Linked DNA regions of Homo sapiens: all the other regions are linked to region 4. The links are contacts of gene promoters, found by promoter capture Hi-C in blood cells and fetal thymus (Javierre and others, 2016). All regions are on one chromosome and are shown on one strand. The core of a region is centred on a gene start or on the middle of the fragment in contact, and the rest is flanking DNA. Distances in the headings are between cores, read along the strand shown.

The links. Contacts are between HindIII fragments. The CHiCAGO score rates a contact against its expected background, and 5 or more counts as called.
Region 1: a contact is called between a fragment that was not itself captured here and the fragment with the promoter of NEO1 in region 4, in 1 of 17 cell types (megakaryocytes). The highest score is 5.1, in megakaryocytes.
Region 2: a fragment that was not itself captured here is called in contact with the fragment with the promoter of NEO1 in region 4 in 1 of 17 cell types (endothelial precursors); the score reaches 5.1 in endothelial precursors.
Region 3: a fragment that was not itself captured here is called in contact with the fragment with the promoter of NEO1 in region 4 in 1 of 17 cell types (M2 macrophages); the score reaches 5.6 in M2 macrophages.

What each region holds. Positions count from the first base shown.
Region 1 is chr15:73,235,515-73,241,874 of GRCh38, reverse strand. It overlaps NEO1 (neogenin 1), which reads right to left. Exons shown (of 29, transcript NM_002499.4): 8 at 5,369-5,528. Among named protein-coding and RNA genes, the nearest start is that of MIR12135, 61 kb to the left of the region's middle. The HindIII fragment of the contact is 298 bases long and covers 4,051-4,348 here.
Region 2 is chr15:72,859,722-72,866,174 of GRCh38, reverse strand. No RefSeq gene overlaps it. Among named protein-coding and RNA genes, the nearest start is that of ADPGK, 79 kb to the right of the region's middle. The HindIII fragment of the contact is 915 bases long and covers 4,251-5,165 here.
Region 3 is chr15:72,828,976-72,835,757 of GRCh38, reverse strand. It overlaps LOC107984801 (a long non-coding RNA gene), which reads right to left and starts at 1,810. Exons shown (of 3, transcript XR_001751596.2): 1 at 1,659-1,810. RefSeq lists an enhancer at 227-728. The HindIII fragment of the contact is 3,138 bases long and covers 177-3,314 here.
Region 4 is chr15:73,050,594-73,057,223 of GRCh38, reverse strand. NEO1 (neogenin 1) reads right to left here and starts at 4,761. Exons shown (of 29, transcript NM_002499.4): 1 at 4,419-4,761. The coding sequence starts at 4,548. RefSeq lists silencers at 4,442-4,821, 5,052-5,371, 5,462-5,531, 5,592-5,641. The HindIII fragment of the contact is 4,913 bases long and covers 1,685-6,597 here.

The DNA.
Region 1 (6,360 bases), core at 2,950-5,449, 190 kb before region 4:
ATACCCACATCAAATTTCTATAGAAGCATTACCATTAAAAAAAATCAGTCATAGGTGATCTGACACTATTGGTCTGAGGTCCCAGAAACAAGTTACTGTGCAGAAAAACCACCCTTGGTTTTGGGATAAGATTCAAGGAGCATTTGAAACAACAATTCTCTTAAGTGTGTGGGGTTACAGTGGGACTCAGGTTAGAATGTGAAAGCTAAGAATCAAAAGGGAAAGAAAAGGGCACACTTTATAGAAAGAAAGCACTGGGCTGGAAGTTAGGAGATGCAATTCTAGTTCTGGCAATGCTACTAGCTTGTGAGGAAAAGTCACTAATGCTTTCTGGGCCTCACTTTCTTTATGTATTAAACGAAAAAATGAGACAGGGTGGGCAAACTTTTTCTTAAAGGGCCTGGTAGTAAATATTTATAGGCCAAGAGGCAAAATGGAGGATATTATATAGTTACCTATGTAACATTTCAAATGTAACTATTTAAAAATGTAAAAACTATTCTTAGCTCCGGGGCCATAAAAATAAATAATTGCTCCAATTTGGCACAGGGTCCATGGTTTGCTAACCCCTTGACTAGACTAACAGATCTCTAAGGCTTCAATCCAACTTTAAAGTGCTATGAATAGCAGAAATACCTTACTTTCCACTTCCCACTTAATGGTTAATATAGAAAAGTACTGCTTTTTTAAGAAAGATGAAATTTTCATAGCTGAAAAGGCAGAGAGGAAGGACCCTCTGAAATCTCTGGCAACTCAGGTACCCATAAGAATTACAGCTCATGACCAAGGCATATGGTGCCACCTGGTGGCTGAATTTTCAAATGCAGGAAGTGGGTGAATTTGTAAATGCAGGTAGTGGCATACATTCTCACATTGAATTCTTACCACACGTCTGTGAAGTAAATATATTACTTTTGTTTTTTAGATGAGAAAATTTAAGCCGATAAGATTAATAAGAAAGTTTTGTTTATGTAACAATTAGCCAGGATATAGTCTTACGACTTAAAAAAATTAACTTCTCCTTCATTGCCTCTATTCAGAAATCATAAAGTAATGAAGCAACAAAAAACTATTATGGTCTCCCAAAATCTTCCTTTTAAATATTTCCCAAATTTGTCCTATCCACTTCAAGTCGCTGCTTTCATCTTCATCCAAGCCGACGACTAGCACGTATCTAGGCTAACATAATTACTACCCAATTTTGTCTCCCTGACTCTATTTTTTCTCTCCTTTAATCTTGGGTAGTGTTCCCAAAGTACTGTTTAATAAAATCACAGTGTACAACTTTCTTAACAGTCAAAAATGGTCCCTTCTTATCTGATTATGTCCAAATTCTCACTGGCATTCCAGCATCTGGCTCCAAACGTCCACTTTATTCTAATCTCTTACTAATTTCTGCCAAAAGCTCTGGGCCAGTTTGGCCAGCTTTCTTGCCTTTGCATCCTTCTCACAGCATACACACAGATGGCCTTACCTTGCACTTCCTCTTCCTTTACATACACTAGTCATGCCCACCTGCCCCTGCCAACTCAACTTCTGTATCTCTTCCAACTACAAATTAATTTACTAATCATTCCTGCTTACTCCAACCCACAATCTATCATAAAATTTAAATAAGTGTGTCTCATTGAAAACATTTAAATATAAAAGTACACACAGTTAAAAAAAAATAAGTCTCAATTCTCTTTTGTCAAAACCTGTCCTGCCCTGAGAGCTGACTGTGGCACATATTGACGCATATCTCACCAGACAGTCTCCATGCCAGGGTTTCTCAACCTTGGCACTACTGAGACATTGGGCAGGATAATTCTTTGTTGTGGGACTGTCCTGTGCATGGCAGGATGTTCATCAGCATCCCTGGCCTCTATCCACTAGATGTCAGTAAGTACCTCTACTGGTACTTACTGACGCTGTACCAGGCATTGCCAAATATCCCGAGGGATGAGGGGGCAAAACTGTCCCTGGTTGAGGATCACTGCTTTAGGCATTTACATACACATCAAAATATACAGACAGGTCATTTAAAAAAAACTGCTGCCACCATACTTACGGGTATACATACAGTCATGCACTGCTTAACAACAGGGATATGTTCTGACAAATGCATCACGTGATTTCATCGTGTGAACATCACAGAATGCACTTATGCAAACCTCGATGGTATAGCTAGGTGTATATCCCACACACCTAGGCTGTATGGGATAGCCTATTGCTTCTAGGCTACGAACCTGCACAGCATGTTACTGTACTGAACGCTGTAGGCAATGCGAACACAATGGCAAGTGTCTATGTGTCTAAACACAGAAAAGGTACAGTAAAAAGACAGTGGTATAATCTTATGGGATCACCATTGTATACGCAGTCTGTCTGACTGAAGCGTTGTTATGTGATGCACGATTGTATATTAGGTGCCCATTCTTCTATCAGTGGATATTTACATAGTCTCCTTTTATAATCTTGCAAACAATGCTATAAATAAACGTGTTTGTATGAGGGCCCAATGCATACATATATCTGTATGTCTATAGGACAGTTACCTAGAAGTGTGATGGAAGGCTATGTATATTTAAAATATTTTAAAATTCTGCCAAATCACCTTCCCTAGACTATTCTAATTTATACTGCCACCAATAACCTAGAGTGGTTTTCCTCCTAGCTGTCAACTCATTGAACACTGGATATTATCAACTTAAAATTTTTGCCAGCTTTATAGATGAAAAATGATAACTTGGCCAGGCACAGTGGCTCATGCCTGTAATTCCAGCACTTTGGGAGGCTGAAGTGGATCGCCTGAGGTCAGGAGTCCGATACCAGCCTGGCTAACACGGTGAAACCCCATCTCTACTAAAAATACAAAAATTACCCAGGCATGGTGGCAGGCACCTGTAATTCCAGCTACTTGGGAGGCTGAGGCAGGAGAATCGCTGGAACCTGGGAAGCGGAGGCTGCAGTGAGCCAATATAGTGCCACTGCACTCCAGCCTGGGTGACCCAGCGAGACCTTTGTCTCCAAAACAAAACAAAACAAAACAAAATAAAAACAAACAAAAAAACCCCCATCATTTTGCTTCCAAGATCGCCTGAGATGGTGAAAACCTTTTTTTAACTCTAATGGGCTTTCCAGTACTATGAATCATCTGCTTGTATTATTTGTCTCTTGGGATATCTTTTATTTATAATTTGTAACTTTGTTACTCTTTCCTGTTATGGCTTCTGGATTTGCTATCTCCCTTTAAAAGCCCTTTCCTGTTCTCCAAATGATAAAAATCATTTCTATATTTTCTTCTAATATATTTATAGATTTTAAAAATATTTATCTCTTAATCCATCTATAATTTAAGACAGAGACATAACTTTTATTTTTCCCACCAAATGGATAATCAATCTCAACATGATTACTTGAATTATCTATTATTTCTCCACGAATTGAAATTAATGTATTAACTTAATAAATATTTACTGAGTGTTACTAAATGCCAGGCTCTGTTCCAGGTGCTGGAGAATTTTATTGAACAAGACAGACAGAATAAATAAGCTAATAAAAGAGAAAATTTCAGAGAGTAGTAAGTGCTCTCAAAAAAAAAAAAAAAAAAAAAAAAAAAAACCCAAACTAAAAGCGAAACAAACAAAAAAATACCACACACATACCAAAAAATAGGGTGATGTGACAGCAGTGGTGTTCTGGTGAATGTTTAACAATTGGCTCTGGTTTGCAGCATTTGTCACTGTAAACACTCCCACCATGCCCAATTTCAAGCTGCCAAGTCATGTCATTAGGTTTGCAAAATTTCCCGAGCATTTAACAATTAGCTTGGGAACAGGCTGGCTCTGATACCCCACTGTGTGACAGTCACCGAGGGGCTAAGTTTGGGTTGGTATTCAGGGAAGGCCTGAGGAGATGTCATCTAAAGATGATAGATAAGAAGCCAGATGTAACTCATGTGAGGAAAATGCATTTCTGGTAGAACGCACAATAAGAGCAAAAAACCTACTGCAGAAATAAAGCTTATTACGCAGAATTACTAAATGGTTTCTTCCTTCTGTGAAAGCTTATGAGATTTTCAATGAGATTTCAAAGTCTATTGAAGATATTTTAATGGTGATATTGAAACTTGCTGTTTGGTAGGAATGTCTTACCTTTTTTTATGTATAGAACTATGTTTCTCTACCCTTGTAAAACTCAAAACACACAGTATAGCATTCAGGTAACTCCCATCTGTTGGTGTTAAATTATGCCACTTAGACTTCTTGAGAGTATTAAAGAAAGGGTCCTGCACTTGCTAAACTTGCCAGTCTGGTATTAACTACAATGTACATCAACTATAAGCATGCTAATGGAAATACAAGCTTTAGCTGATGTATTAGGGCTCCTACTAAAACACGTATCTTAGCTTTCTTATTCTGGTTGGAAGAGCACAGTGAAGGAATTTACTACTCGGCAATGTGTGAACAGTCAGCATGTGGCATGGTTCCTTCCAAAGAGTTTATAATCTGGTTGGGAAAACAGCACAAATACATAGAACATAATTGAAGAATAACAGCTTAAGGTAGTAAAATATCACATATTACCATAATCAAGTGCCAATATTAGGGATACAAATACACGTACAAGGGAAATGCTCTATGTGCTGAAAAGGTGGGTAAAGATCTTTGAGAGCTTCATGGGGCTTAACCTGGGCCAAGAAGGATTAACTGAATTTACCTTCAGCTGAGAAAGGGGCAAGAAGTGACTGAAGAGGACACACTGGAAAAAAAGGCTATAGTGATTAGACTGGTTTCACTAGAAAGTCAGTTACATTGGGGAAAAAGGAAAAGCAAGTTGGACAGATAAAGTGAAGCCAGCCTGTGGCACAAAGCAGCCTGGACATTATAGATCTTCCCCTATGAGCAATGTGAGCTCCTGAGGGGGTGGAAATGAAGAGGAATGTAATGAAAATGCTATTTTAGGAAAAGTCATCACTAACTACTCTTATTCCATCAAGGAGAACCCCTGGAGCTCCGCAGCCCACACCACATAAGGGTGTGGCAAATATTCATTTAAGTTTACTTTAATAAATTAAGTCTACCTTAATCTCTAGAATTTATACTGACTGAATCTTATGAAAAAAGGGCACTCCTTCTTACATTTAAATACGTCCACCTCAATAGCTGTATCTACCCTCTCCCTAAGTCATCCCAGAAAAGGAGAGACTACCAGGACTTTAGTCTGTTTGGGAGTTTATTTAATGACCTAAAATTAGGGAAGGTGCATCTCAGTGATCTTATTTTCTGGACTAAAAATTGGTACAGATACCAAGAGCCAGGGTGAGCATGACAAGGCTGCCGTGACCAAGAGGCAGCCAACTGGCTGCAGACACACAGGCACTTACCTAGCAATCCCTTCCTTGGTGTAGAACACAGAGTAGGTAAGGTTGTCTCCGTGAGGATCTGATGCAGGTGTCCGCCACGTCAATTTGATGAAGCGGGTAGAGACCAGGGAGGCCACGACATCCCGAGGAGCTGAAGGCAGTGGTCCCGTTGTGGCTGGTGCTAGATGGTCAGTAGTGGCACTGGTCAGTGAAGTGGGAGGTAATGTTGGGATGGCAACATCTTGTCATGTGCAAACATTGGGGAATATGAAGGGCAAACCACGACGGTTTTAAAAAAGAGAACAGAAAAAACAAAAAACAAAAAAGAAATAAACAAAACCACGATGGGAAATAAAATAAAATGAATGAACATAAAAAAGGCCATTAAACTGAAGGCTAACATGCAGGCCAGGGTAACTACTGAAAACTAATGGGCACTATTCAAAACACATCACTGTAGAGCAAGCAGACTTTCTGGCCACTATAATGGTTATGGGCAAGGGACAAGGAGGGTGACAGCTGAGAATAAAACTTCTCACAGAAGGCACAGCAGTGCCCATGTAATTTTCTTAATCCTGAAAGCAGCATGCAACATCTGTCAAACTTTGCATAAAAGTCTTGCAAATGACAAGACTTCACTATTTTCTTCTACTTTAACATATGGAATAGTATGGATGACCCTAGTTACACTGAGAGGCTCATGGCTATTGTGACTTCACTGCAGAGCTCCTTTGCAGGAGAATTGAGGGCCACATCTTCAACTTTAGTCTAATATTAAACCCTGCACCTCTGTATTTGGTAATCCTGCGGGGGAAGGTTGATAAACTTCTTCATTGTAAGTTATACCTTGCTGTTTTGTCAATTCATTTAGCTAGGACAGTATAAAATCCTGAACCAAAAATTCCAAAGCCAAAAAATTGCAAGTCAGGTAGCTAATCTGTTTGTTACACTCTTCACTGCGATGTATACTGAAACAGCTTGCAGACCTCAAGGACTGGATGGGAGAAAGGAAG
Region 2 (6,453 bases), core at 3,459-5,958, 190 kb after region 4:
TTGTGCAACACACAACCTACATGGCTATACACAGCGGCCTTAGAACCAGGCCCTTATTTCCACCCATTCTCCTTAGCATCGAGTCCTTTATCACTGATCATTGATCATTCTTGCAGCCACATAGTTGCAGGGCAGCTGTTGTACCCATTGGCTTTACAGTCGTGTTCCTGGTGGAAAGCAGAGAGAAAGGCAGAAAGCCTTTAGTGAGGACTTTTATTCAGGAAAGGATGCCCTCTCTATGGACTTCTGCCTTGATCTCACTGGCCAGAACTGTGTGTCCTCTACAAGGAAAGCTGAGTCTTCGTTTTCTAATCTCTATAATAGGAAGGCAAGGGAGAAGATTGTGAGCAGTCTGTTTGCTTTTTCTACACAAGGGGAGAACATTCCAGGCAGGAGGTACAGCATGTGCAAAGGCTCAAGAGCAAGAGCATCCCTGCTGGGATCGCAGTGCCTGCCACTGCGGGGCATAGCAGGCGCTCACCAGACACTCGCTGGAGGAGTGAACAGATAGATGAAATGAGATCATAGGTACAAAGGCCACAAGAAGTTCAGCCTGGCTGTATTGTAGCACTTAAGACAAGAAGTGGCAAGACAAGAGGCAAGGGATTACATGGCAGCCAGAGCTTCAGGGGACTTGTGTTTGGATCTTTATACAAAGAGCAACAAAGAGCCTTGGAAGAACTGTCTATCGGGTGTAACTTGATTAGTCTGTGTTTGGGAAGATCATGCTGCCTGCAGGGAGGGGCACATTTTGGAGGTGAATGAGACAAAAGGTAAGGAGTGCATCTGGAGCCTATTGCAATATCCAAGGTAAAAAAGAAGGTGGCCTGGAAGAGTATGTGGTAATGGGGACAGAAAGTGGTCAGAGTCAAGAGATATTTTGGAGGCAGAACTGACTGCATTTGGTAAAGGATTGAACACGGGAGAAAAGAGAAAAGTCAAGAACAACTCTGAATTTCTGGCTCAAGTTACTGAGTCTCTGGTGCTACCAATCATTGAATCAGGAAGCACAGAAATAGCAGGTTTGTGTTTAGAGTAGAGGGAAGATGAATGCACTTTGGATGTTATACTAAGCCTTGTTATATACATACCCCAAGATTTGCTGATCTCCGTCTACCCCACAGGTCTTAATCATTGGTCAATGAGGATCTCCAGCTGCAATCATGAGTGTACGCTCATCTCATCCCACATCAAGTTGGACTTAGAGCAGTGCCCTTTGGCGATCTGAACTGCTTATAGTGCAGCCGTAACAAGGACACTGGCTTGTCATGTAGTAGGCAGGAGGTGGACTTGGGTAGCAATGCCACCAGCACATTCTCCACATGTTCCATGGGCAGCTGCCACAAATGCTTAATTCTTTTCCAGCCCAGGTCCTGCAGCTCATCCACCAGGTTCCTAGGCAAAGCTGCATCTCTAGTTCTTTGTATGCCATAATGTACTACAGCTTTTCTGCCTCATCCCACTCTGTCTTCATCAACAGCTCTTTCAAGCTCCAGTCATCCCTGGACTTGGCTGAACCCGTTGGAGACTACGGCTTCTCTGATCACTTTTTGGTCCAGCTGAAGCACCAGACTGAAAGCTTGCGGTCTGGTTTCTCCAGTGGATCCCTGGAGGGGCCAATTAACACAACCCAGAAATGGGTGGGAGTTAACCATGAAACAGACCTGGCTTATAAGTACAGAAAGAAGCCACCAGCTAAATCTTTTTCTCTCTACCCCCAACCCCAAAGAAGTGTTCCAAGGCATGGTTCTTCTGTTAGTCCTGTTTATAAAACTTTCCATGTGCCCAAGCAACAGGCTGCATTTTTATTTTATTTCTTTTTGAGACAGGGTCTCACTATGTTGCCCAGGCTGGAATGCAGTGGTGTGATCATGGCTCACTGCAGCCTCAAACTCCTGGGATCAAATGATCCTCCCACCTCAGCCTCCAGCCTCCAAAGTAGCTGGGACTACAGGCAAGCACCACCATGCCCTGCTAATTTTTTTTATTATTATTTTAGAGATGGAGATCTCACTATGTTGCCCCAGTTGGTCTTGAACTCTTGGCCTCAAGCAATCCTCCCACCTTGGCCTCCCAAAATTGCCTGCATTTTTAACGAAGTTGTGGCTAGCTTGGTGCAGTCACTTCCTAGTGCTGCCGTAAAAAAGTACCACAAACTGGGTGGCTTGAAACAACAGAAATTTATTCTTTCACAGTTCTGGAGGCCAGAAGTTGGAAATCAAGATGCTGGCAGGGCCATGCTACCTCTGAGGGCTCTAGGGGAGAATCCTTTCTTGCCTCTTACAGCATCTGGGGGCCCCAGGTGTTCCTTGGCTTGTGGCAGCTTTACTCCATCTCTGCCTCTGTCTTCAAATGGCCTCCTCCCCTCTGCGTGCCCTTTCCTCTTCTTATAAGGACACCAATCATATCCCGTCTAATCCAGCTAGCCTTCCTCTTAATATAATTAACCACATCTGCAAAGACCCTATTTCCAAATAAGGGCACATTTGCAGTGCTAGGAGTTAGGACTTCAACATATCTTTCTGAGGACACAATTCAACCCCAAACACTCGGTAACACACCATCTCATGTTTGCTTCCCTCCTCCTCTGCCCCATGTGCCTACTTCTCTTATACTTTGCTACCCTGGATTTGTACCACCCAATACAGCCTTACCATAGGCATTTTGTGTAGGGATTTATTTTCTAGGAAATTTGTGTAAAGAAAGACTTGCTGAGTTTGCAACATCCAAATGAAGATATCTATAATTCTGAAATGCAGGGTAAAGGTCTGGATGGGAAAACATAAATAGGAGCTTTTATGGTAAATATCTGCTTTGTGCATCCTGTATTCCTCTCCCTTCTTCTGGCAGTAGCACTCTTTTTTTCTTTAGGGATCTGTTCTTCCACAATTCCATGTGGTCCAGGGGGGCTGGCAATTCTTACTACCCCAAATTCATTCAGGTCCTTTGAGTCAGCATGTGACTCCAGTTAGATCAACCACTGTCCTTTCCCAGGAATGGGAGAAGAAGTTCTTTCTTTCCTCCAGAGTAGTTATCTAGGATGCTAAAAGGCCGAGTCATTTATGATCACCCTGTGCCCTCCCCAGACTCCATGAGAAATCCTGTGCAACAGAAGAGAATGAGGCCAAGACAATGATAGAGACAGGGCTGGAGTGGAAATGGTGGGAGAGTGATATGTTTTGGCTGTGTCCCCACCCAAATATCATCTTGAATTATAATAATCCCCACATGTCAAGGGCGGGCCCAGGTGGAGATAATTGAATCATGGCGATGGTTTCCCCCATACTGTTCTCGTGGTAATGAGTAAGTCTCACAAGATCTGGTGGTTTTATAAATAAGAGTTCCCCTGCACAAGCTATCTTGCCTGCTGCCATGTAAGATGTGACTTTGCTCCTCAGTCGCCTTCTGCCGTGATTGTGAGGCCTTGTCAGCTATGTGGAACTATGAGTCAATCAAACCTCTTTCCTTTATAAATTACCCACTCTAGGGTATGTCTTTATTAGCAGCGTGAGAACAAACTAATACAGAGAGAAAGAGGCCTGACAACATCATTTGAGTCCTTAGATCCAGACATGCCGAGTTTCACTCTACTTCTAAACTAGCCTATTATGCTAGCCAAACATTTCTCTTTAGTTTTGCTTGAGCTAGTGTGAATTGGGTTGCTGTCATTTGCAACCCAAAGTCCTGACTATATAGATGTCATCGTGGTTAGACGCTGACAGAGCCTGGTCAAAGTATGAAGGCTGACAAGAGCAGAGGGCCTAAGGAAGGATCCCAAAGGGCAGGAACATTCAAGCAACATTCAGCAAAAGCATTAAAGGAGACAAAAAATTAGTGACCAGAGAGATGGGAAGAAAATAGGGAGAGTGACAGAAGACAAAGGAAGTGAGACTCGGAAGAAGGGAATGGTCCACAGTGCCAAGTGCAGCTAGCGGGTCACACAAACAGGAAATGGAAATGCCCATTGGATTTAGCAGAAGCATGTCCCAATGATTTTGAGGAAATCAATCTCAATGGACAGGATGGGACAGAAATTTAATGACCAAGTGTTGAAGAGTAGGCATGGAAGGGAGTGAGACAATGATGGCAGAAAACACTCAGGAAATGTGGTTGCGAAAGAAAGAAAGGAGATGACAAAGGGGGAAAGATGGAAAGTAAAGGAGAAAACTTGAGGGTTTTTTTTTTTAAGATAATAAAGCCTTGAACATATTGAAATGTTGATGGGAAGAGACCAGCAGAGAGGTAAAGCTTACAGATATAAGCAAGGGAGGGAAGAGTGGTCCCTGAAAAATGAGAGAAGGGCTCAGATTTATCTGTGGTGTCAGGAGAGAGAAGGAAAATATAGGTGCAAGTTCAGAGAGGTTTAGGTTTGATGGCAGGAAGTTGGGGCATTCGCAAGGTTATTGCTGATGGTGACAGGGGCTGCAGGGCAGCAGGCAGGGGAATGGTGGGGTTGGAGTCTGAGAGAAGAATTGTAATGGCCTGTGTGGAGCAGGAAACAGAGGCCATTAGAGACATAGAAAGATTACTAGTCATGGAGGGAACTGTTGGAGACAATGAAGTTACAATGGCTCCAATGCACATGGCCATGGGAGGCTTTGGGGTAGTGCTCAGCTGTGTCAATATAGGCACAAAGACAGCAAATGGCTGGAGTATAACAGAACTGAAGGACAAGGAGTAGAGGCTCTTGGAAAGCTGAGTAAAGATGGAAGGGAAGAGAGAAAGCAGCCCTGAGAGGCTTGAAGTAGAAGGTCTAGGACTCAGATAAAAGCGGGGACTCCTACCTGGTAAGTCCCCATTTTTGCCTGGGAGGCTGAAGAACAGGTGAGAAGGGCATGTAACAGCTCAGATCACTCATGCAGCCCCTGTCTGACGTGGACCAGAGACCCACTGCCTGCCCCGCTGCCACCTGCGCTAAGTCTGTCTTCACAATCTGTCCCTGATTTCACAACTTCTCCCCCCACGCTCTGCACATGGTCAGCTGTCTCCTTCCCTCCTCACCCTACATTCCGCATCCTTACTGCCTCTGGGCCCTTCCTCATGTCCTCCCTATCCCGGCCCCCTTATAACTTCTCCATACACACAAACACACACACACTTTTTGCCCATTCAAATTCTCTCTTACCCTCCAAGGCCCTGGTCAATCCCCTCTCCTTAATGAAGCTTTTATCAGCTATTCTGATTTCCTTTTCTGAATCCCTGGGGCATTTATAAAAGGTATCTCAGCATAACTGTATAACAGTCTCATGGTATCTGTTAATCGTCTCATTTGTGATTTTGGTCTTTGTAACTAGATTATGAGTTCCTTGATATGCAGAGCTACTTGGCCATTGAAGATAGATAGATGTTGATGGATGGATGGATGGATGGATGGATGGATGGATGGATGGATGGATGGATAGATAGATAGATAGATAGATAGATAGATAGATAGATAGATAGTAGATTTTATTAGGGATTAGATAGGTAGATAGATGACAGATGATCTGCATTAGGGAAAATTTTCAATTTCTTTAACTATGGGGCTACTTGCCAGGTAGGAGTCCCCACTTTTATCGCCTTTATAGATGGGCCCCAACTTATTATGGTTGGATTTAAGATTTTTCAACCTTAGATAGGTTTATCAGGGTATTAAGTGCATTTTCTTTTTCTTTTTTTTTTTTTTTGAGATGGAGTCTCACTCTGTCACCCAGGCTGGAGTGCAGTGGCATGATCTTGGCTCACTGCAACCCCTGCCTCCCGGGTTCAAGCAATTCTCCTGCCTCAGTTTCCTGAGTAGGTGGGATTACAGGCGCATGCCACCATACCCGGCTAATTTTTGTATTTTTAGTAGAGATGGAGTTTCACCATGTTGGTCAGGCTGGTCTCGAACTCCTGACCTCATGATCCACCTGCCTTGGCCTCCCAAAGTGCTGGGATTACAGGCGTGAGCCACCGCGCCCGGCTGTGCATTTTCAACTTACAATATTTTTGAATTACAATGGGGTTGATGGGGACATAACCCCATCATAAGTCAAGGAGCATCTGTACACGCAAACACACAAAAACACGTGGACGTACAACATGCTGGGTGCAGGGCTCAGGGACGCAGGGACTGAGGCCATGTGAGGATTCACCACTGATTATTCTAAAGGCATCCCAACTCTGCTTTTCAAACAAGACTCCAGCCTCACCTGGCCCCCTCCCCAGTGAATGCCTGTGACTCTGCTAGTGCCAGTAAGAACTTTCCAGACCAGAAGCCTACTACCCAAGCTCTTGGGACGGAAGCAGTGGCTCCACGGAGGTGACAGGCAAAGAACAACAGCCTTGGACCTGCCTACAGGAAGCGTCGGAAAGACAATCTTTCTAGAAGACTGGCCCGTGCTGCTCATTTCCACAAAGGAGGGTCATGGGGCCTGATGGAAGAGCACCAATCTTCCCCATATTTTGCCTACGGAGAGCAGATTTGAGAGA
Region 3 (6,782 bases), core at 496-2,995, 220 kb after region 4:
CCCTGCTCCTCTTCCCCCTCCTCCCTTATCTCCTCCCTTTCCCCCTTCCTCATTGAGACTGTACTCTGCACCAAGCTCTGGGCCATGCCCTGAGAGAAAGGAGTGAAACTTCAGGTAGCCCTGGGGAGAGCCTGCCACCTGCTCTACAGGGCTGATCTTATCCCCAGAGATAAGCTTGGGTCTCCTAGGTGATTTCTATGGCTTCTCCCTCTGCATATGCTTTCTTTCTCTTCTTAGGGGGGCAGGTGGTAGAGAGGGAAGAGCATAAATCTCTGTCACAGCCCTGTGTTTGAATCCCAGCTCTGCCCCCTATTGGCTGTGAGATCCAGGAGAATCACTGAGTACAGTTTAAGTGTGAGCTCCTCTGAACAATGAACTGCCCTGTGGATTAAATGACACAGCAAGAGTTTACCCTTAGTGGGTGCCTACTCTGGGCCAGATGACTTTTAGACATGATTTCTGATCATCAGAGGCAGTGCTTTTTAAATTTGAAGGTGCAAAGAATCACAAGGATCACAAGGAATGTGCAAGGATCTTGTTTAAAGGCAATTTTGATTCAGGAGGCCTGGGGTGAGGCCTGAGATTCTGTACTGCTAACAAGCTCTCAGGATGCAGCTGGTCTACAGACCACTCTCTGAGTATCCAGGCTTACATATAAATACATGAGGTAGGTCAGAGGTCACAAACTCAAATCCAGAGGGCCAGCAGCAAAACTCACTCTGAGCAAGAGGTGCTGGTGGGACCATGGCAAACTGAAGCAGGGATGCCTTGTCTGAAGGAGGTAGCCCTCTGCAACCTCACAAAAAGGTGGGCTCAGCATTGCCAAATATTTCCCCTCTTTTCCCCCAAAGAAACCAACATTCCAGCGTTCCTGATTGTAAACAACAAATTCAACTTTTAACAGCTTCATTGAGGTATAACTGACATACAACACACTCCAGATATTTGAAGTTTACAAGTTGGTAAGTTTTTATATTTGTAAACACCCGTGAATAAACTCAATTTTTTCAAAAAAAACCACTCAGTCAGCTGACTAAACATAGTTGCAGATCAGATAACAGGCTGTAAACCTCCAATTGCATCCTCTGAAATAGGACTAGTACTTCCACTTTAAGATGTGATCACTGAGAACTAGAAAGGTGAAGTGACCATCCTAAGGTCACACAGCCTGCAAGGAAGGTGTCAAGGTTCAATCCTGGATCTGACTCCACAGTTCATGCCCTCCTCCTTCATCCTCTGCCACCAAGGAAAGTCTCTCATGTCACCTGTCTCTGGGACTATAACAAATAAAGGATGACTCCCTGCCCCCTTCTCCACTTCTCATTCTCAGGAAATGATCTCTAAAGTACAAAGGCTCAGCTCACACATGTAACCCTAGAAGAAGTAATAAAACAGGTTCTGCTGAAATCATGAACACTCCTAGAAAATGGATCCAACTCCAGAAGTCTCTGTTCTGACTCCCAAAGCACAGCTCTGGGGGGCTCTCTGCAGCCTAATGACTCCTGTGGGAGAGCCCAGGTCCCCAGAACACACATAGAGGGCAGGAACTGACCAAAGCCCTCAGGGAGCAGATTCCAAATCAGGGAGAATGTTACTTCAGCTACAAGTAACAGAACGCCTCAACTCAAAGTATCTTAGCATGTAAGAGGGTTTATTACCTGATAGATCAGGAAACACGGAGTTGGGAAGACAGGATTCCAGACACGGTACTTCAGCACTCTGACTCTCTTCTCAATGGTTTTCTGAGAGTTGCCCCACTCTGTGTATTGGCTGGAAGCAAGGTTGCCACAGAAGTTCCCAGGCATCACAGCTGGACAAAGAAGAGAAACCATATTTTCCTGAGCTATTTATTAGAAGTGAGGAAACGTTTCTCAAAAGTCCCCCTGCAGACTTCCCCTCATGTCTCCTGTAGTCTTTCCATGGCCTGAACTTCCTCACACTATGGAGATTAGGTTCCAAGGGCAAGCACTGAGAGAGAGAGAAAGAGAGAGAGAATATAAATATGCAAGTGGGACAGATGTCACATCTCCTTTCATGACCTAGCCTCAAAGTCATGCAGCATCACTTGCACCACATTTAATTCATCAAGGCAGTCACAAAGGGCCATCCGGCTTCAAGGAGAGGAGACACAGAATCCACATCTTGATGGAGCAGTAGCAAGTTCTCAAAAAACAGGAAACAGATTGTGGCCACTTTGGGAAAATATAATTTTCCACATAAAGGGATCTCATCGCTGTTTGCCTGGCCCCCCTCACACAGCTCACTCCCATAGCCAAGTCTTACTGGGCAGGATGGAGACCACCTGTAGAACACTCCTGCAAGGGTTCCCTTGTCAACACCCACATTTCCCTGAAATGAATGGCTGGTTTCCCTCGGGACTACAGTTCTAACCATGGCTGATGTTGAGAAAATCTTACATGTAAATCTCCTGAAACAAGGGGCTAATGTTGGCCATGGCACTAGAATTTAACACTTCTGTCTTGAGCTAGACTCTGTTGTCTACTCTTGTCAGTCTCTGTGTTGTATCTGGGGACGAACTTTCTCATCTCAGAGGCCAGAGCCTCCAGTTTGCTTTGTTTAGTGCCAAGTTTGTCCAGATACTGTTGATACTAGTCTGTTTCAGAATTTTACACTTATTTGAACATTTACTTACTTTTACTAATCTCTACTGCTAAACTCTGAGCAGTTAATACTCTACATAATATCTAGGTACCAAGGTGAGCTTTGTCTTGTAATGATTACAGAGGATTTATGAAAGACAGCTCAGGCCAGTCTCTGATGTCTTAAGTTTCCTCTCTAGCTGGCTAACAAGATATCTATGTGGAAAGGGGAAGTACAAAACACACTACTTCTTTTTCAAAGTCCTTATCACAATTGTAAATAATCATTTGGAATAATTATGTGTTTAAGATGGTCGTACATAGGTTCTAAAATCCCTATCAGTCTTGTTCAAGCCTAGCTTGCCTGGAACATGGAAGGTGTTCAATAGATGTTTGCTGAATATTACAGGATAGAATGAAGCAGTAGAAATTAGGAAGGTAGCAGACCCTGTTGGTCACTTCCCTGTCAGTTATTCCTTCTTTCTTAGCTGTGGCAGGCACTGTAAGCCTATGTGAGATAACCACACAGGGCTCCATCAGTAGCTAAAGCAAGTGCTGTGTTGATGACATTGTAATATATATTAAATCATATGTTATTTCCTCAATTAATAGATTGAAGGTAAGGGAATAAACAGCACAGCCTCACACCCATTCTCTTCCTCTCTGATGTTTCCTTCTTAAGAAACAAACACATGGCTTCATTACCAACAAGCTTAGGATAAATTAATAGGAGCTGAAATCCATGAAATTAGATTCACTTTTCTAATTAGCTGGAGAGTTCACAGATACCAGGGCGGTCTTTATCACGGGCTCTCTTCTCCTTGGGATGGGGATAGGCATTTGTGATCTCAGAAAATTAAACCCTCCCCCCTTACATTCTACAAAAAAATTTCTGATTGAAGTGTAAATGTGAATTTCCTTTGGCCACCTGGAAGATCATTTTGAAGTTGTGAATCTTGAGCAAATTGCTCATTAATTCCACCCTGTGTTTGAGAGATTGTGTGATACGCAATTTCCATTTTCAAAGGAATTGTCTTATACTAATAATGTCCTCAGATTATTTGGCACCCTCCATGGAGTTCAAAGTGATTTTGAGACCTTTTGTCTTTAATTCCCACATGCCAAAGAGAGAAAACGGGGGGCCAGGAGAGAAAGTAACTGCTTTCCAGATAGCCAAGTGAAGGAGGCTGAGGTCAGGGAGCCAGGGGCCAGGAGAGACAGAACAAAGTTGTCAAGATGACCCAGTGGGTCAGTGGCAGCCCCAGAGAATCCCAACTCTTATTTCATTTTCTCCTCCAGCCAACCAACCACCCCAATTATTTCCTAAGATTCTGAAACTGTCCAACAGACCCATGAGGCTCAAAGCAAGGACTCTGGAGGCCTGGCCCTGCCTCTTCTAAGGATTCACTACATGACTAAAAATGGCAAAATTTGCCCAGTGAAAGAACGGGCTCCCTGTCCACAACAGCTAGATGCCCAGTTTCCAGGAGTCCTTTCATTCACGCATGCATTCAGTTATATGACAACTTTTTATTGAGCACCTACTATGCACCAGACACTGTTCTGAGTGCTGAGAATATAGAAGTGGATACATGAACAAAAATCTTTGCCCTCACAGAGGCTATCCCAGTGGGGAAGGCAAACAATGAACAAAAGAAATAAGTAAAATATAAGTTTTGTTAATAGTGATAAATGCTAGAAAGAAAATAAAGCAAGGACAAGGGACTTAGTGTCAATCCCAATCAGGGTACAAGATGGGTTGAATTTTTAGTTGGGATAACCCGGGAACACTGCACTGAAAAAGTCCAGGAAGAGAAGAAAGATCACAATGAATACTATGGAGGGTATCACAGCCTTGGACCAAACATGGGACCAGGTATTTCCTACAGTCTCTTCTGAAATAAATTCATTCCTCTCTCACGCATCTATGCAAGTATTCTTCAGAGGGTTGTAGGAGTTAAGAAATTAATGAATATTTGTACAGGGTTGAATAGTGTGCCCCCCAAAATGCATGTCAACCCCAGGACCTCAGAATGTGACCTTATTCGGAAATAAGGTCTTTGCAAATGTAATTTGCTAAAATGACATTATATTGGTTTAGGGTGGACCTTCTGGTATCCTTCTAAGAAGGCCATAAAGTGACACAGAGGACAAACATGGGGAAGATAGTCATGTAAAGATGGAGACAGATATTGGAGTGAGGCAACTACAAGACATGAAATGCCAAAGGTTGCCAGGGACCACCAGAAGCCAGGGAGACGCATGGAACGTGTCCTCCCTCACAACCTCCAGAAGGATCCAACTCTGCTGACAGCTTAATCTGGGACTTCTGGCCTCCTGAACTGTGAGATGATAAACTTCTATTGGTCTAAGCCACCTAGTTGGTGGTAACTTGTTACAACAGCTCTAGACAACGGATACAGATTTTGGTACCAAGAAGTGGTGCTGCCTAAAATATGTAAGGGCTTTGGAATTGGGTGATGGGTAGAGGCTGGAGGAATTTTAAGCCTAGACTGTCGAAAGAGATTATCAGTACAAATATAGGCATTAAAGTATACTCTGGTGAGGACTCAGAAGGAAGAGCACAGCAGAGAAAGCACCTATCATCTTAGAGAAAATGTATATTGTCATGAAAAAATATCAGTTGAAATATGAACATTAAAGATCTTTGGTGATATCTGAGATTGAAATAAGGAGCCTATCATTGGAAACTGGAGGAAAGAGTGGCAAAGAACTTGGCTGAGTTGTGTTTTAGTGTTGGGTGGAAAATAGAACTGGTAAGTAACTTGGATATCTAGCTGAAGAGATTTCCAAGCAAAATATGGAAGGTGCAGTCTGGTTTCTCCTTGCTGTTTTTAGTAAAATGCAAGGGGAAAGAGATAAATTGAGAAGGAGCTACTAAGCAAAAAGGAACCAGAACTTGATTATTTGGAATATTTTCAACTCATCCATATTATAAAAGATGATAAGGCATGCTCTAGAGGAACACCAAGGGTGTGGCTGAGCAATCTTCTGGTGCCGTTAGATGTACAAATTACGGATCCAACCAACCATCTCAGCAGGAGCCAGGAATAGAGATGGGGCTACCGAGGAAGGATCTGTAAAGAACTCTGTGTCTAATGAAGTGGATCCTCTTAATATACACAGGAGACCCACCAGGATTTTGAGAATGTCATGTCACCAACAACACTACCAGCTTGGGCTAAATGGAACAGAGACAGGAAAAAATGAAAGAAAGCTGCCATTATTCTGGGATTCTATAGGCAGGAAACCAGCCAATAGAGTGATTCAGCTGTGAACATGTATTATCCTTCAAAAAAGGAAAAGATGACTGGGGGAACCCATCAGGGCTGCCTGTGCTTCCCCTATAGAAAGTGTCACCCAAGATATTAGGGCTCCTGTGAAGCAATTCTTGTTCCCTACATATAGCACAGAAGCAGGGGAACATCAAGGAACCACAGAAGCAGAGACTGATGGGGGTCCTTAGGTGTAGTTCCGTGGGTAGAGCTTATGTTGATCCAAAGACTCAGGAATTAAAAAGTTATTTGACCTCGACACACTTAACATACCATACCAAGATGGGGATAGAATATCCCTCAAGAGAAACCCCCATCTAAAAGGCGGGGGTAGGCTAGGCACAGTGACTCATGCCTGCAATCCCAGTATTTTGAAAGACTGATGTGGGAGGATCACTTGAGGCCAGGAGTTCAAGATCAGCCTGGGCAACATAGCAAGATACTGTCTCTCCAAAAAATAAAATAAAACAACAAAAAATAAATTATCCAGTCATGGTGGCATGCGACTATAGTCCCAGTTAGGAGGATCACTTGAGCCCAAGAGTTCAAGGCTGCAGTGAGCTATGATCCAGCCACTGCACTCCAGCCTGGGTGACAGAGCAAGACCCTGTCTCTAAATTAATTAATTAATTAATTAATTTAACAAAGGGGAGAGGCAAGTGGGAGGTACATGTAGTCACTATTCCATAGTGATTTTGAAATCTAGCTGGGCAGATATTATCAGTTCCCTCTACTCTAAAGGCAAGGAGTTTTCTTTGACTAGGACCTATTTTGTGCTTCCTGGGAGTGATTTCCTAACCTATTGTTCTCTTTGGTTCTTGGCTTCATACTCTGGGCTCCACTATCTGAGACATCTCCCTTTTCAAAAATGAATAGATCCTATTTA
Region 4 (6,630 bases), core at 3,512-6,011:
TATAGTATATTTTTAGAGTTCACAAAGAAACACTGAAGCCATTCTACATAGGTACAGTACTTTATAGTTTATGAACAATTTTACATTTTATTTTTCTGACAATCCAGTTAGGTAGGTAAGGTATTATTCTTGCCTGCCTATATCCCCCAACTTACAGATGTATGTGAAGTTGCAGAACCACAAGTCATACCCCATATCCTCTGCCTTCATGTATGTCTTTTCACTATCTCACATCATGTATTAATTTTCATACAGTTTATGAAAATCAGTCATATTTCTTATCTTCTTTGAGCATTCATCCCAGAATTCTATGATCTCTTTTGTGCCTCATTCTAACAGACAGGCAGAGCAACGCCATCAGTCTTTTCTTTTAGATGACTCAGTAAGATCAAAGATCTTTCCAAAGATGACAAAACTAAAAAAACGCTAAAACTACAGCATATCCAGGAGGATGACCAAGATCACAAAAGATCTGGAAACTAAGTAATGTGAAGAGTGGCTGAAGGAATTAAGGATGGTTAACTTAAAAAGGATAAGGTTTGAGGGGAAGGGCAGGGGGGGCCCACACACACATGCACACAGGAAATGTGATTAGACACATGAAGGGCCATCATATAAAGGAATCAGATTTGTGCTGTATGGCCCTACGGGTTAAAAACAAAGGCAATTCAACATTCAGTCAACAAACATTTACTGGTTATCTTCTCTATGCTACATGTTAGTGCTACACTAGGGAAACAAAGGTGAATAAGACAACCCGGCCAACCCCTTCAGAGGTTGAGACTAGCAGAAAAGACAAGAAAATAAGTAACAGAAGATGAAAAGTACTCAGGAAGCTATGGGAACACAGAATAGTGACCATAACTCTCTTTGGAAGAGAAAGCTGGTAGAGAAAAATTCATTGACTAGATAAGGAGTTTCAGAAGTGGACAAGGTGAGAAGTGACTTAACAGAAAGAACAGCATGTGCAAAGGCACGGAGATCTGAAGCTGTGTCGTTAATCTGGAGTGGTGGAATGCAAGGTGCATGTTAGGGGTGACAAGAGATGAGGCTTTATTGGGTTTGGGAGAACAGAGGTAAAGAATACAAAGGGCCTCACAATCTCCATGCCAAAGAGTTCTAACACCCAAGCTACAGAACACTAGTAACAGATTTTAAGTAGGAGAGTGGCATGCTCAGGAAAATATTTCAGGAAGCTCATTCTAGCAGGACAGACTTCTAGAGGGTAACAGTACAGACAAAGAGATTAATTATGGAGCCACTACTGTTAGTCCAGGTGGGGATGAAGATGAAAAGATACCGATTCAGAGTCAAGAAACAGCTGAGAGGTAAAAAGCAAAAAGAACTATCCGCTATGGCAATGGGAAGAGGAGGTCTTCTTGATCTCAGCTTGGGCAAGTGGATGAACAGTGATGACCAAGACAGGCAACACAAGAAGACAAATCCATGCAATCCTTCCAACAACATGAGACACAGGGGCCAGGAACTGGTTTGTTCATGTTTAGAGAATGGGGATGAAGGAAGCACGAGGGAAAATGACACAGAGTTTAACTTCGGACTTCAGTAACCTAAGATCCTATTTAGTGAAGGTACCGAGTGGCAAGTGAGAAAGTGTGGACTAAGAGAGTCCTTAGCTTACAGGTGGCAACTGAGGGCAAACAGAGTATGTATAATGAGATAAGCTTTAGATACTAATATTTAAGTGAGTGAGTTCAAGAAAAGCCAGAAAGACAAATGAAGAATTAATCAGAGAAGAGATTAACCTGAAGATAGAGTAATGCTGAAAAAGGTAAGCAAAGAGGAAAAAATGTAAGAAGGGTGGGGAGGGTGAAAACTACAGTGAAATGTACTGTACAAAGCAACATTTTCTAACAGAAGTTATTCAACACAGAAATGGACTACCCTGTAAGGCAATGAATCACATCATGAAATAAATGGTTCAGGCAGAAGCTACAGAGTCCTCGGTGAAGAATGTTCACTCTAAATAGAGAAGACATGCATTGCACAGGCTGCTGCCATGTCATCTTCCCCAAGGTCTCTACATATCTTTTCAGTAATCTGCCCTTTTTCAGAATACCAGATTATGTTCCTACTCAATTCCAACCCTCCTCCCTTGCTGACCATTTTCTATCACCAGTCCTTTACTTCTTACTTTTTCCTCCACCTCCGTATGTCTATAACCTCAGATGGAAAAACACTTTCCATTTATCCTATTGTCCCACATCTCTATTTTTCTCCACCTTCTACTACTGAACATGTCCACTTCCCTACAATCTATTCACTATAATCCCCTATAAAAAGATTTATAAGTCTATCACTCTACAAAAATAAAAAAAATAAAACTACTGACAAAGGACATCTGATTTGCGGACAGCTTGTTCCAGTTGCTGCTTACTCAGTTCTCCAGTCTCTTGATCTCTTCCGCAGTTTTATGGCAGAACTGACCAACCCCTCCTTATTGCAGTTATTCCTCTCGCTTTTGTAATGAAGCAGAGCGGTTTACAGGAAGGACTCTGGACCGAGAATCAGGAGATCTATGTTCTAGACCCAATTAAACGACTAATTACCTGTGAGCCTCCCCACCTCCACTCCTACCCACTCCTCAGATCTCAGTTCTTGTGAGACACTCTTAACACCCAGACTAGGTTATGTCACTCCAGTACCCACTTTGTGAAAACCTATTCTCCTTTGTAGTGCTTATCACAATTACTTAATTATATAATCAGTAGATGGATGGCTATCTTTCCTACCCACACACCAGACTGTAAACTCCATGAAGGCAGAGAGCATATGCCTTGCACCTCATCTGTGCAAAATAAAAACCTGTCAATTGAGTTAATGTTGAAACAGATGTTAAGACCACTTCCTGAGACTGCTTGCATTATTTTTATTATCCTAAGTAATAAAATTACTAGCATTTTAGTTACTTACAAAATTATCGGCAAAACTTTAAACAAAAACTTGAAATTTGGTGAACTACATATGAATTTCCATATAAAATAGATCATGAGTAACAGGAACTTGTTTTCCAAAATAGTTATATTTCTCTTGCTCATCTAAGAGACAGTTGGATCAGTAACCTGCATTTCAGCACCAAAATGTGTTCTAAACCATATACGGACTGAATGTATAAGGGTACATCATGACATAAGTGATGTTTAATTTGACATTAAAACACTATTGTTTACGTAGCTGTTTAGAGAATACCGAGTGGTACTTTACGTTTAAAGCTGTTCTTTAACATTGGCAAAAGCCATGAGCTACATACACACTCTGCAAGGAAATGAAAAGTTTATCAGTCAAGTTACCTTGCAGTGTGATTTTAAATATTATTTCATATAAATCAGGGAAAAACAAGTACTGGTTCAGCGGTAAGACTGCTTTCAAATGTAAAAATATCATATCTCACACGAGTGAAAGTTTTGTCAAGTTTTATGGTACACCACCTTGGTCAAATAATTTTAACAGATTACATGCTAATTTGCCTTTCAACTGCTGAGTGTATCCTGCTCAACAATACCGTAAGGTCCTTCCCGGAAGGCTTGGCATTTTTGTTCGTTGGTCCCCTTAATAGGAATGCAGGTGGTTTCAGTAATCTATAATATTCCAAAAAAGAACTGAAAATGGCTTTTGAGGTTCAATGTTTATACAATGCCATCTGAAAACATTGTACAAGTACCTAAAATCTGATGCTTAGACAATTCCCTTGGTTAAGAGTGGTTAATAGGCTGTAAATATAGTTGTAATCCCCAGGAAAGAAGAGGCATTTCATAACGGAAACACTAACAGATACGATCACTCCGAGCCGCTCTCCAAGGCGTCCTCATCGTTAAATCAACACCAGGGGTTGTGAGCGGGCAATTGTGCCCCTCTGACACCCCCGCTCTTCCGCAGACTCGGGCTCCAATCCCCGCGCGAGGAGTCCCTCGAGACTAGCCAGCTCTTCCTCGAGACTTCGGAAGCTGGGAAATCCCTGGCCAGGGAACCAGGAGCTCAAGCCCCCTCCCCTTTCCTTTCCTGAAAATTAATGAATTGGCCGTCTGATTGTTTATTTAATGAGGTGTGTAGTGGCCTCTACTGGTGCTAGTGTGAGCACAAGAATGTCCCACTCTTACAAGTGGGATGAGCCTGGGGGAGGGGAGAGAGGCGAGGGGTGAACCTGCCTCCAGGTACAAAGCTGGGAACTAGACCCCTGCGCCCCCGACCTGCCCCCCGGCAGCCGCCCCTTCCCCGGTGGCGCCCCCTCTCGCCCTTCTCCTCCCCACCACGCGCGATCCCCTTTCTCTTCGGCAACCGGAGCCGAGGCAGAGAAGTTCCTGCACGTTTCCTCCTGGATCCTAAACAAAAACACCGCAGCCGCGGCCGCCTGAGCCGGTGCCGCGCCCCCGCGAACCCCCGGGCCCGCGCCCGCCGCTTACCTGGGGACTGCGGCGCGGAGCCGCTCCTGGCGGCCGCGGCGCCCGGCGCCCGGCGCCCGAGCAGCAGCAGGCAGTAGAGCCAGAAGGAGGGGGTGCTGAGGAGTCGCCGGGCTCCCCGCTCCGCCGCCATCTCTTCCCCGAGAGTGAGCGGCAGCGGCGGCGACAGCGCCGCGGAGCCCTTGCCTCCTTCCCTCCCGCGCGCCTCAGCCGGTCCCTCGCTGCAAGCTCGGCTCCCGCGGCCGCCGCTGCTCCAGCCCAGCCCGGCCCGGCCCGGCCCGCGCAGCCCCTCTCGCTGGAGGGGAGACTCCAGGGCGCCTCCCTCCTGCAAGGGGGCGGGGAGGGGAGGAGAGCGAAGAAGGGGAGTCAGTACATTCCGGGGCGGGGGGGGGGGGGCGGTGGGTCGGTCTCCAGGTTCCAGGCGCCGCCACCCGCCGCCGACTCCGGCTCCACACACCAGCGCGAGGGGGGCGGAGACCGCGGACGGCGGGGGCGGGGGCGGGGGCGGGGGGCGGGAGTCCCGGGCGCGCACACGCGCACGCGCGCGCCTCGCCCGCACCCCCTCGGCTCCGCGCGCGGCCCGCCCCCGCTCCAATCCCGGCTGCCGCCTCTCGGGCCGTGGCGGGCCCGCTCCCCTCCCCCTTCTCCCCGGAGCCGCTGACGGGTGCGGGGCGCGCGCGCCGGGCGCTGCTGCTGGCGTCAGGGAAACCCCGGAGAAGCGGATCCTCCTGCTCCTCCCGCCCGCTCGCCGCAGCCCCTCGGCTCCGCGCGCCCCCGCCTCCTCCTCCTCGCCTCGGGGACAAATTCCCCCCTCACCTCCCCAGATGCCTCTGGCTGCAGAGACCTGAGGGCGAGAGGCGCTCCGAGCTCAGGCTGGTCCGGGAGGCCGGCGTGGGCGCGCACCTCTGCACAGTCCGGGCCTGGAGCCTCTATATAGGGCCTCAGAGGAAACCGAAAGGCCTCCGGGAGGAAACCTGGGTGCGCAGTGGGTCGGCCCGGGGATTTATGTGCTCGCCAAAAACAATAGCGATCCCGCCCGACTCTTGCTGGGCCCTGGCGCGGCTCCCGTGGGAGGGGGCCGGCCGCGCAGCCGCTGACCTCCGGCTCCCAAGCCGGGCCGCCGTCGCCGCGCGCTTCCCCCGGGCAGCGCCGGGACCCGCCCGAACCGCGCCCCCACCCGCATCGCTCGGCCCGGGTCCAGGGAACTAGGCACAGACAAAGGTGCCCGCTGTCCACTTCCTCAGCTCGTGCGGGGGCCCCGACCGAGCCCTGGGACTCCCCGGGGCCAGTCTTCTCGCAGTAACTGCTACGTTTTACCTGTACCTTTGCGGGACACTTGGCGTTTTCCTACCTGGGAATCACGTCTTTCGCTGATAAACCAAGGAGCAAGTGGGATATGATTTTAAACCACTTAGTAATCGTGAGGCAGCACCCAGGCTACACAAAGTTAGGAGAAAGCAGTTTGTAGTTCCACTGCTGATGAGACTATTGATCATTTTATATACTGCACCCATGAAAAATTTTTAAAGAAAATTTATTTGTATGATTATGCAAGCAGAGTCACGTTTGGTGGTTGATAGGCGTTGGGTTTTATTCACTCTTCTGTGTAGTCGATAACCGAAATGTCTTGCTTCCCACAAGAAAATGGCTATTTCACTAACATATCCCTCTGTGCTTTCTCATAGTTACTTTCCAAAGATATTTTATTCTAAAGCGCCAAAATGAACAATGTAAGACATGGATTAACGTCGGGAGGGAAGAGCTCAGAATCTTCATAAAACCTTAAATCATCAAAACGGTGAAATTAGGAATTCTCATGCTAGTTCTTTGAAACAATTGACTTAATAGAGGAAACACATGCTTATGGTTTTTCACTAGGGAAACCATTTAAATACCTTTTTGTTTTGGTTAGAGTTGTTAACCAGCAAAAATATTTCCTAAATACCCGTGATTGACCTGTTAAATTAGAAATAGATTACCTCCCAATTACTTCACAAGTATTTGCTTAATTAACCTTTAATAATCACATCATTATTCAGTTTTCTGAGATAATTAATGAGAAAAGCTCTTTGAAAACTGTAAATTGCCTTGCAAATGTTAATTTCCTGATATCTTTTCTAAGTCTGGAAAAATTTCATTATATTAAACCTATAACGTGTAATATGACTTCTGAGATGAAGCTTACATTTATCTCCAAGTTTTGAAAAATACATGA